Linked DNA regions of Homo sapiens: regions 1, 2 and 4 are each linked to region 3. The links are contacts of gene promoters, found by promoter capture Hi-C in blood cells and fetal thymus (Javierre and others, 2016). All regions are on one chromosome and are shown on one strand. Each heading gives the region's core, a stretch centred on a gene start or on the middle of the fragment in contact. The rest is flanking DNA. Distances are from core to core; before and after follow the strand shown. Region 1 overlaps NARS2 (asparaginyl-tRNA synthetase 2, mitochondrial). Region 2 overlaps GAB2 (GRB2 associated binding protein 2). Region 3 holds the start of GAB2 (GRB2 associated binding protein 2). Region 4 overlaps NARS2 (asparaginyl-tRNA synthetase 2, mitochondrial).

Region 1 (2,842 bases), core at 115-2,614, 120 kb after region 3:
TGAAAATCAATATAAAGGATGATTACCTCCCATCCTAAACAGTCCATGATAGACTAACCTTTCCCTGATCATATAAAACTTACGTTAGTGCAATAAAACTTAACCTAGCCTTTCTCTATTATGCAAAACAAAAATTTTTGCTAGGTTATTCTGCCACTGGAAGACAGTAAATAGCACAGCCAAGAAAGGGGAAACCAAGAGCTACCAAAAAAATTTTTTTAATGTGTGTATCCCAGTGAATTTCTTACCACACGGATCTAAAATCCTCCCTGTTTCTTTGAGGATTTCCAAGAAAATATTAAACAAGTATTTTGAATTGCCCTCCAGTTATTTGTTCTCACAGCAGAACAAATTTAGCTGAGCAGTTTCACAATCTCAGGAGAATTAAATAGAAAAACCCACACAAGTCCGACTCTGTCTCCATGTAAAATATATAGCAAGGAGCGAGAGTAAATAGCAGTAAGCTGAACAGTGGAAAGGAATATAATCAACAATGGAAAACTTATTTGACCTCTACAATCACTGAAACACCCAATCTATTTTTATCTCCTTTTACTTTTTCCATTTTCTACTTTGTACCCTACCCCCACCTTTTACCCAGTTCTATTTACTCATAATCCCAGAGACAAAAAGTTGGGAAGAGAATACATAAAGATGAAGCATGGTTCAGAAATTTAAAAGGTTTAAAATCATAATGGCATGCTATTGTCCTGTTTACCTCAATCTGCAATTTCCTTTGAAGATCATGAAGAAAAGGGAGAGTACTCACCATCTGTAAGCTCCATATAACCACTGAATATCCTATTTTCTTTCTTGATCCCAATTAAGAGATTAGAGGGAGGCTATGCCTTTCACGATACAGATAGTAAAGAATAAAAAAATCTAAGTTAGATAAAACTTTAATTTTTTCACGCCTGTAATCCCAGCACTTTGGGAGGCCAAGGTAGGCGCATCACCTGAGGTCAGGAGTTCGAGACCAGCCTGGTCAACATGGTGAAACCCCATCTCTACTAAAAATACAAAAATTAGCCAGGCGTGGTGGCGCACGCCTGTATTCCCAGCTACTTGGGAGGCTCAGTCATGAGAATTGCTTGACTCTGGGAGGCAGAGGTTGTTGTGAGCTGAAACTAGTACTATTGTACTCCAGCCTGAGTGACAACAGTGAAACTCCATCTCAAAAAAAAAAATTTTAATTCAACTTCCCTCTTGTAAAAGATGCTAAAGCTTAAAAATGTTAAATGTCAAATGTTAGAATAAATGTTATATACAACTACTTTTTGGTAAGATCAGTTGTAGAATCCAGGTTTCTCAGCTTCTAGTACAATCACCTTTCCAATAAGTCATGTCACTTTTTTTTTTTTTTTGAGATAAGGTCTTGCTATGTCGCCCAGGCTGGTCTTGAACTCCTGGGCTCAAGTGATCCTCTCACCTCTGCCTTCCGATGGGACTACAGGCATATACCACTGTGCCCAGCTCTCGCATTTTTTATCCTGTAGTGTTGAAATAAAGCTTTGGATTAAAATGCTTTTAATATTAGTCTCTCCTAAGTATGAAATGCTGATCATATAACATAAAACAAGCCAGGTGTAGTGGAGGGTGCCTGTAATTCCAGCTACTCGGGAGGCTGAGGCAGGAGGATCACTTGAGTCCAGGAGTTTGAGGTCAATGAGTTATGATCATACCACTGCACTCCAGCCTAGGTGAGAGAGTAAGACTCTGCCTCTAAAATCAATCAACCAACCAAGCAATCAATCATAGGAACTAAATCTGTCATACAGTCTCCAAAGATTTGTGGGTTGGTAGTTTCATGATCCCTATCAAGCTGTATCTCAAATGCAGTTGCTATCATTGCTGCAGAAATTGTTCTGCATGCCATTAGACTGCATCTCATACGTAAAAACCAAAGCCAAGGGAAACAGGCTCAATAAACTGCATTCTATTTTGCCGGTTATGTTAGTTTTGGGATTTGCCTATTAACAAGCCATATATGTAGGTCTTTCACTAATCTAAAAATTTCCAATAAGTCCAGTTTATGTTTCCATACTTTCCACTTGCTACAAATGTGTATCTTGGTGTACACAGAACTGCTAGTATAAAAATAATCTTTCTTAAAATAAGGGTTCATTTACATTCCAGAACACCCACTAACTAGAACACCCACTCAGCCCTGAGAAAGGTTTCATTTAAACAACTATTTGATCAGCAGGAAAGGAAGTTATTAAGTCAGACTGTTTGTAAACAGTGTTTTCCTGCTGAGCAGTCTGAGAAAGAATGAATCAAGAAAAGACGCGTGGAGTCTAATATTAGAGGGTAAGGTTGAGGCAAAACAGAAAGTGAATATACAATGCTGCCTTATTTTTCTTTTACAGGAGATAAACACAAATGTAAAATTGCAAAACAGCAAACTTATTCCTAAATGTAAAGGGGTCGGTGAAAAATGAACCAAACTTTTTTTCACTATTGCTTGAAAAATATTAATTTTGGCTTATTCATTGTCAGATTGGGGCTTTAAGGATGAATATGATAAGATATGGTCCTAGTCCGTTAACTAGGACTTCTGTGAGAAGGGATACCTATGCTCCAGAGTTAAGTCTCCAAACCACGTATCCACACAAAGGACTTGACTACCACTAAACACAGCAGGTACTCAATAAATACTTATAAATCCCAGCACTTCGGTGGGGTGGAGGCAGGAGGATTGCTTGAGACCAGGAGTTCAAGACCAGCCTGAGCAACATAGTGAGACCCTGACTCTACTTTAAAAATTAGCTGGGTGTGGTGGTGCGCACCTGTAGTTTTAGTAACTCTAGAGGCTGGAGTGGGTGGATCACTTGAGCTCAGG
Region 2 (2,710 bases), core at 162-2,661, 81 kb before region 3:
GGGCAGTCTGCAAATGTTTTCTCCCATTTTGTGGGTTGTCTCTTCATTTTAGGGATTGTCTCCTTTGCTGTTCAGAAGCTTGTTAACTTGATGTGATCCCATTTGTCCATTTTCGCTTTGGTTGTCTGTGCTTGTGGAGTTACCACTTGCCATTTTTTTCTAGACCAATGTCCTGGAGATTTTCCCCAATCAGTTCTTGTAGGAGCTTCATAGTTAGAGGTTTTAGATTTAAGTCTTTAATTCATTTTGATTTGATTTTTGTATATGGTGAAAGATAGGGATCTAGTTTCATTCTTCTGCATACGGATATCCAGTTTTCCCAGCAACACTTACTGAAGAAACTGTCTTTCCTCCAGTGTGTGTTCTTGGCAGCTTTGTTGAAAATGAGTTCACTGTAGGTATGTGAATTTGTTTCTGGGTTCTCTATTCTATTCCATTGGTCTATGTGTCTGTTTTTTTGCCAGTACCATGCTGTTTTGGTTAGTATAGCTCTGTAGTATAATTTGAAGTGGGTAATGTGATTCCTCAAGTTTTGTTCTTTTTGCTTGGGATAGCTTTGGTTATTCTGGGTCTTTTGTGATTCCATATAAATTTTAGAATTGTTCTATTTCTGTGAAGAATGTCATTGGTATTTTGACAGGGAATGCATTGAATCTATAGATTTGGGTAGTATGGACATTTTAACAATATTAATTCTTCCAATCCATGAGCATGGAATATCTTTCCATTTTCTGGTGCCTTCTTTAGTTTTTTTCATCAGTGTCTTATAGTTTTCATTACAGAGATCTTTCACTTTTTTAGTTAAATTAATTCCTAGGCATTTAATTTTATTTGTGGCTACTATAAATGGGATTACTTTTTAAAAAATTATTTTCCAGGTCGGGCATGGTGGCTCACACCTGCAATCCCAGTACTTTGGGAGGCGGAGGGAGGCGGATCACTGGAAGCCAGGAATTCAATACCAGCCTGGCTGACATGGTGAAATCCTATCTCTACTAAAAATACAAAAATTAGCTGGGCATAGTGGTGCACGCCTGTAGTCCCAGCTACTGAGGAGGCTGAGGCAGGAGAATTGTTTGAACCTGGGAGGTGGAGGTTGCAGTGAGCCAAGATCGCACCACTGCACTCACTGCACTCACTCCAGCCCGGGCGACAGAGCGAGACTGTCTCTCAAAAAAAAAAAAAAAAAAAAAAAAAAAAAAAAAAAACACAACAAGAATTATTTCCCAGATTGTTCACTGTTGACATATAGAAATGCTACTGATTTTTGTATGCTGATTTTGTATCCTGCAACTTTACTGAATTTATCAGTTGTAATAGTTGTTGTTTTTTTTTTTTTTTGGTGAAGTCTTTAGGTTTTTCCAAATATGAGATCATATCATGAGCAAACAAGGATAATTTGACTTCCTGGGAGGAGGGATAATTAACGGGCACCTTAAATCTCTAAAACCTTGGTAAAGTGCTTTGTTTTATAAAATAGATAATAGTTAGAATTTTGTGTTTTGTCTATGGATGTCTACACATTATTTTAGACCCTGGAAATACAGGTGCCACAGCTGACATTTTATTTGCTAAATTTCAACAATAACCATCATCAAACAGTGAAAAATGAACAGGAATAAATAGCATGGGAACATTAAGTGGCCAAAGGGTATGAGAAAAATGTTAGGAAATTCTTGTTATCTGTGCAATTAGAAACAAAATAAACCAAAGAATTGAATTAATGACAAGAAGTGATATATATTGAACTAAAATATGTTAGCATCTAGTCATTTCTATTTCTAAAATATCATAGTAAAGGGAAGAAAAGCCATTGTATTCAACTGCTCAGAAATCTGACTGTGAGTACTCCAGCATCTACCTACCTTTGACTATGGACTTCTGAAGACTATAGTACTAGCACTAGCAGGGAACAACATTCAAAGAACCTTGGACTGGGCAACCAGCCTTGCGATTAAATGCTTCTTGCTCAATGTTCATCTAATACCTTTGGGTTCCAAGATCTCAACACATTCTTAGCATTTGGTCTCAGCAAAAGATCAGATAATCATTTGCTTCTCAGCGTAGATTTCAGTTAGTGGGTTTGATTTCCTCATCTAGTACTATTTGCCTCTTAAATCAAATGTCCAAAAAGAAATAAGGACAGGGCAAAAGGCAATATGCAAAAGGCACCAGAAGCTACTATGCGGGGGTTTCCTTTTTGCTGTAGTCTCAGAAATGGCAGGGAGGGGTCAGAAGTTTTTGCCCTATTAGGAAGTAAGGCAGAATTCCCCACAGTGATGTCACAGACAAGACTTAGTTAAGGAGGGGCTAGAAAGTAATAAAAGAATGGAATGATATGTTTTCTCCCCTGACAACCCACACCGTTCTCTTAGAGGCAGGGAAAAGAGAAAGAAGGTGGAAGTTGGAGAAAGAATGGTAGAGTATTAGGCAAAGAAAATAAAAGTCTTCCCTCATAGAAGAAGAAAGCATCATTCTAGTAACTCCCCATCCCTACCCTATCTCAAGTGCAGCTAATGGTGAGAAGTAGAAAATGTTTTGTCAATAAATGAATCACAAATGAGTTCCTCTCTATATTCCGTAAGACACATTCTGTGTAGATCCTGTAATTAAGGAGTTCCAAACTTAGCTAAGAAGCCATGTACATTTTTAAAATATAAAGCAGCACAAATACAGCATTAAGTCAGAAGTAATATTAGGAGTTTAGAGG
Region 3 (2,918 bases), core at 302-2,801:
TAAATCCTTAGATTTTTTTCCCCCAGCAAACATCTACCTAAGAGCCTGATTTCATTGACACACACTTGTACTCCGCAACAACAACACTTCCTTTGAAAAACAGAATGTCACTTCCTCAGTCCAGAGGCCAGAAGTCCCTTGATTCTGATCTGGGGAGCCAAGACAGGAAATTCTGGTAGGCTTCTGCCTCTCCCCCCATGGACAGCCACTGGTGCAGCTGACAGAGGGCAGGGTCTATTCCGAGCTCCCTTGATGCACTGCAGCTGGAGGCAACGGCTCCCTTCCAGGCTGTGGGAGTGATCCCGGAGTTCGGCACCACAGCCCGTTAAACAAGGGCATTTCATGGGAAACGGAGAGGGAGCAGATGAGAGACCTTGAAACCTTCCAGCAACCTTACCCCCACTTCCAAACTCCCGCGACTACCCCAAGACCATTTCGGCCAAATCTCAGTAACTGGCACCATCTTGTACTTTGACCTCACCAGGCAAGGCATCCTCTGGGGAGAGGGGTTAAAAAAAAAAAAAAAAAAAGCCAGAACTCCACGGCTCAGCGCCACGCTGTTCCACCTCCCCCAGGCTGCCAGTTCCCCACCTAGAGGGAAAAGGCTGTTCCAGCGATCTCAGTAAACACTGTCGGTTGGCAACACCTGGCCGCGGAGAGCCTCGATCTCTCCCGACCCCAGACACCCGGGAGCTGCCCGGTCCCAAACCCGGGCCAGCCACGGGGACCAAACTGCAGTGTCACACCGGGGTCGGGGGGAGGCGCCTGTGAGAGACGAACGGAATAAAGGGAAAGAAGGGGGACAAACAAATGAGTCACTTAATACAAGGGCTGCACATGCCGCTGACGCTGCCGGTGATGCAGCCGCGGACGGAGGGAGGCCGGCGGCCGGGAGGGGCAGGCGGAGAAAGGGAAGGAGAGGGCGTGAGGCGCTCGCCCTTTGTGGGGCCGTCCGCGCGGCCCCACAGCCTACGCCCCCCTTTCCCGCCCTCTCCCCGACCCTGCGGGCTGAAGCTGCTCGGGGCTGCCGCGGAGCCCCAGCCCCGAGAGTCAACTCTCTCGGTCTCCAGAAGCCATCAATACAAAACTTCGACACTGTATTTAGTTCACGAGCAGACCGGCTTGGGAGGCGCCGCAGCCGCACCCGCCTGGCGGAGCAGGAGCCGCAGCCTCAACCTGCCGCCCGCCCCGCCCCTCGGCGGCCCACCTGTGACAGGTGTGCAGGTGCCCCACACGCCCCCGGCCGCTCCTCGCCCCCGGCCCCCCGCGGCTCCGGGCCCGAGCTCCCCAGCCTGCCGCCCCTCCGGGAGTCCCCCGCCCCTCCGCAGGCCCCGGAGCGCCCCCCGCCCGCCCCTGGGCGGCCGCGCCCGCACTCACATAGCGCCTCAACTTCTTCTCGGGAGGCGATTTCCTCAGCCAGCCGGTGCACACCACGTCGCCGCCGCCGCTCATGCTGCCGGCCTGGAGCCCCCCGCCGGGTCGCGCGGACGAGGGCGCGGGCTCGGGCAGCTGGGGCAGCGGCCGGCGGTGCGCAGCTCGCGGGAGGCCAGGGGCGGGGCGGGCGGCCCGGCGGGGACTAGGCGGCGCGGCGCGGCGCGAGCCCGGCAGCCTCGCGCGCGCCCGCTCCCCCGCCCCGAGCGCGCGCAATCCGCACTCTCCGCCCGGCCGCCGGGGGAGCAGCTGCAGCAGGAAGGCCGGCTCGCTCGCCACGCCCGCTCCCGCCGCGCCCCCGAGGCCGCCGCGCACGCGGACGCGGGGCTAGGGACCCGCGAGGATACAGAAAGCCACCGCCGCCGGCGCGCCCCGGAGTCTCGCTTTCTCCTGAGGCCCCAAGCCGCGGGCGCGGAGGCCAGGGAGGCGACCGCGCCCCTGGCGCTGGCGGGTGTGAGGGGAAGGGACTGCGCGCCCTCGGTCGTCGATCGATTTTTCACCGAGCGTCGACGGGGAAGGGATACTAGGGCTGCTCACATTTCCGATACATTCTGCGGGTCAGGTTCCGGCTGAAAGGAGGGACCCCTTCCCAGCAAGAAGCTCCTTAACTCTGGCGTCCCTCGGCGGGAGGAGGAGACGGACCTACTACGCGCCGGAGCCTTTGCTTTTGTAGCTTACAGGATTGTCTTCAGTATTGTTCCTATTTTATGGACAGCCTAAGGGCAAGGGCTTGTACAAAGCCGAGCCAATTTTCCAATTCAGGTGTGTGGGGGAGGAGGGGTCCCGGTCATCTGCTATTCAAAATGAGGGCATTGCCTTAATGGGATCGACCTGGGAGCCTCTCATTGCCTGGAAACCAAGTCCAGCTGACTCCCTCCTACACTGCCTCTGGGAAAACACAGTTTAGTATAGAAAATTCGCATGATTTGTAGAATGGAAGAAGCAAAACTAGTCAATGTATTTCATAACGAATTGGAAGGCAAGGTCAAGTGCAGAAGAACAAGAAATTGGGGTCCAAATTCCCCAACGTTCCCGCTCATTGACACAGGCTATGAGACCTCTGTTTGTAAATATAATGGTATCCCAGATGTACGTGGAAGCACACAACCCCAGCACTTCAGCGGGAGGGGGGAGAAAAAAATCTTTTGTACGAGCTCTTTTCTCATCACAAAGTGTCTCTCTAAGCAGCATTAAAAGGCAGGTCCTCCCTAACTTCTCTGATAAGTGGATAGTAACCTGTTTATTCAATGGGGAACCGTGCTGTGTGGACAGATGAATTGGAGAAGCAGCATCTTGCAGTGCCCCACACAACCTCAGACTAAAGCTGTTTTGTTTATTTCTGTCTCTGTGCAGCTGAGTTGTTTCAAGCAGTTGGACATCATTTGGTCCAAAAGATCTTGATTGGGTTGGGGGAAGTTCACCCTCCTCAATTTGGAAAAGCGAATCCCCTACCACGTACTTAGCTCTTCTAGATACCCTGGGAGTTT
Region 4 (2,841 bases), core at 292-2,791, 75 kb after region 3:
TAACTGAGAAAAATAAACGATATCTTGCAACCCTGTCATATGGTAAAATATAATTGTAGAACAAAGATTAATAAAGAATTAGGGGATGGGCTCAAGTGAAAGCTACTTAAGGAATGCCACTGACTCCTTCTGAAGCTCAGATCCTGAATCCCTACAGTCCAGAATATGGTTGTTCAACAGCAGCACTACTGATACTTTGGGCCAGCTAATTACCGGGGAGAAGGTGGCTGTGCACTTTAGGTTGTTGAACAGCACTTCTGCCTTTACCAACTACATGCTAGTAGTGACCACTCTCCCCCTTCCCTGCCCATTCCCTAATAGGGATAACCAAAAATGTCCCATGGGGACTGATCCAAAATGCTCAGCGGGAAGTGTAAAGGGAGCATGGAAGTGAAATGCTATATTGTGTGGCCGAATGCCCCTTCAGGGCCAAGTGCCCTATATGGGAATCCAGGAATATTACTAACTGCTGATGGTTTATAGTTGAGTGCTTCATCAGGAACTGTCGAGACCCAAAGGTACTGCCTTACTCAAGGTTATGCCCCTTCCAGTGGCTAATCACATCCAATGATTGGTTGATATGGGAAGGCACAAAGTGCTAACGCCTTGCTTTTAGATGGGACAACTGTTCCCATCTGGTTTAGGACCATTCCAGTTCCAAAGTTCTTCACAGAAGAAGCTAAGGCCTCTGTTTGTAAATGGATCACAGTTCACACTTCCCACTGTTCAATGTGACTTTCTTCCTTTCCTTATGAATACTGTTCTCAAGAGCACTCCCTAATAACGCCCCTGCCCACACATCTCTGCCTTAGAGAGTTTTGTTTACTAGGAAATCCAACTCAAGACAGGGTAATAAAATAATTAGTCTGTTCTATTTGTGATATATATGGTATTTATGTTTTAAGTGGAAATAGGTCATTTACTGGGTAAGAGTAGAAAGACATAGAAATGAACAGAAAGGAGAGTTGATGAAAATCACTAAAATAAACATCCCATAATTACAAATCCAAACTAAGATAGTAACCACAATGCTTCTGAATAGACAATTCATAATTTAACAGTTAACAATTCCTGGGTATTTACTAAGTGCCATAAATTATGCTAAGTACTTCATATATATATATATATATATACAGACACACACACACACACACACACATATATAGATTTTATCTACCTGATCTTCTCAAGTAGCCTATAAAGTAGGAATTTTTATTCCTATGTATTGGAATTTTGATGAAGACACTGAGGCCTAGAGACATTAAGTCCCTTGTCTAAGTTGGTCACATAGCATGTGAGTGGTTAAGCATCAAATCTTGGTCCATTCAATTCCACTTGTGTGCACTGTCTGGATTATGTCTACAGCCTCCTAACAAGGCCTCTCTACTTTTATCTACCTCTAAATCATTGTTCATATTGCTGCTAAAAAGATGTGCCTAAAATATAGCTCTGACCTTCATTTTCCAATTTAGAACTCTTGCTCCTTAAATTTTGGGTAAAGTTCAAACTCCTTACTATGGCACTGAAATACAAGGTCTTTCATGATCTGTTGCCTGACCATGACCATCTCTCCAGCCTTGTCCCCTGCTCAACTGAGCTGATAGCTCCTGTGGATGCTTTCTAATATAGCTACATAGGGGTTTATGTAAGTATTACAGACATTTATATAATTATAAAGATGTTTGGTATATTTTCCTAGCAAATCAGAGCTACTATTTAGTGAACCTGCTTGTGTTCCAGACCCCATGCTATATGCATTATATTATATATACAATTTCATTTACCCCTCACATAACCTTAGGAGTAAGCACAATTATTCTCATTTTAGAGTTGAGGAACCTAAAGATCATGAAAGTCAGGGAACTTCATAGCAAAGCTAATGGCAGAGCTGGGATATAAACTTAAATCTGTCTGACTCTTGTATTTTAAACTATTACAGTAAAGGCATTCAATAAGTGTTTATTAAGTAGTTACCCCTTCTTTTCACTTTATGAATACCTGTAACACATAAACGTCCGAGGTAAAAATATATACAGAAACATTTTAATGTCACAGATACCTGGTATTTTAAAACTTGTGTACCTACCTGCATAAGATCTTGAAGGCTGTCAACAAAAGAAATCTCTGCTTCTATCATATAAAACTCTGCCAGGTGCCTCCGGCTCTGAGAATTTTCAGCTCGGAAGGTCGGACCAAAGGTAAACACTTGAGTAAAAGCTCTGCAATTCAAGATTAAGAGAATGCAAATAGAATTCACATGATTAATTTTAAGTATTTAAATATTCAGTGAGCTCTTACGGAAAATAAAGTTTTGTGTGCCTCTGTCTTGTCCACAGACTGACACATATTTGCTGCTACATATTTCTCTAATAGGTGATAATAACAGTTTCATTAAAAATGTTACATTGAGGCTGGGCACAGTGGCTCAGGTCTGTAATCCTAGCACTTCCTGGGAGGACTGCTTAAACTTAGGAGTTCAAGACCAGCCTGGGAAACATGGTGAAAATTTATCTCTACAAAAAATCCTTTAAAATAGCTAGGTGTGATGGCCTGTGCCTATAGGTCCAGCTACTTGGGAGGCTGAGGCAGGAGGATCGTTTGAGTCCAGGAGGTGGAGGCCACAGTGAGCCATGTTCATGCCACTGCATTCTGGCCTGGGCGAGAGTGAGATCCTGTCTCAATAAATGAACAAACAAACAAAAAAAAAAAAGAAAAAAAAAAGTTACATTTATAGAAACCATTTTATCCTGAAGGAATCTGCAACTGCTTCACAAATCCTATGGTTTTACTAAATATAGAAACATAACCACTTCTGGGTGCACTCTACTGCAGCTGCCTTAA

The links. Contacts are between HindIII fragments. The CHiCAGO score rates a contact against its expected background, and 5 or more counts as called.
Region 1: a fragment that was not itself captured here is called in contact with the fragment with the promoter of GAB2 in region 3 in 6 of 17 cell types (total B cells, naive B cells, M2 macrophages and 3 more); the score reaches 22.0 in total B cells.
Region 2: a contact is called between a fragment that was not itself captured here and the fragment with the promoter of GAB2 in region 3, in 5 of 17 cell types (neutrophils, monocytes, M2 macrophages and 2 more). The highest score is 11.2, in neutrophils.
Region 4: a fragment that was not itself captured here is called in contact with the fragment with the promoter of GAB2 in region 3 in 1 of 17 cell types (total B cells); the score reaches 5.4 in total B cells.

What each region holds. Positions count from the first base shown.
Region 1 is chr11:78,539,985-78,542,826 of GRCh38, forward strand. The region is part of intron 5 of NARS2 (asparaginyl-tRNA synthetase 2, mitochondrial); the gene reads right to left. The region is part of intron 1 of NARS2-AS1 (NARS2 antisense RNA 1); the gene reads left to right. Among named protein-coding and RNA genes, the nearest start is that of NARS2-AS1, 8.2 kb to the left of the region's middle. The HindIII fragment of the contact is 285 bases long and covers 1,223-1,507 here.
Region 2 is chr11:78,335,155-78,337,864 of GRCh38, forward strand. The region is part of intron 1 of GAB2 (GRB2 associated binding protein 2); the gene reads right to left. Among named protein-coding and RNA genes, the nearest start is that of GAB2, 81 kb to the right of the region's middle. The HindIII fragment of the contact is 2,670 bases long and covers 77-2,710 here.
Region 3 is chr11:78,416,269-78,419,186 of GRCh38, forward strand. GAB2 (GRB2 associated binding protein 2) reads right to left here and starts at 1,552. Exons shown (of 10, transcript NM_080491.3): 1 at 1,378-1,552. The coding sequence starts at 1,452. RefSeq lists silencers at 155-449, 912-1,041, 1,112-1,211, 1,322-1,941 and an enhancer at 538-1,292. The HindIII fragment of the contact is 5,597 bases long and covers 1-2,918 here.
Region 4 is chr11:78,490,977-78,493,817 of GRCh38, forward strand. NARS2 (asparaginyl-tRNA synthetase 2, mitochondrial) reads right to left here. Exons shown (of 14, transcript NM_024678.6): 7 at 2,087-2,219. The region is part of intron 1 of LOC105369403 (a long non-coding RNA gene); the gene reads left to right. Among named protein-coding and RNA genes, the nearest start is that of NARS2-AS1, 41 kb to the right of the region's middle. The HindIII fragment of the contact is 4,140 bases long and covers 1-2,841 here.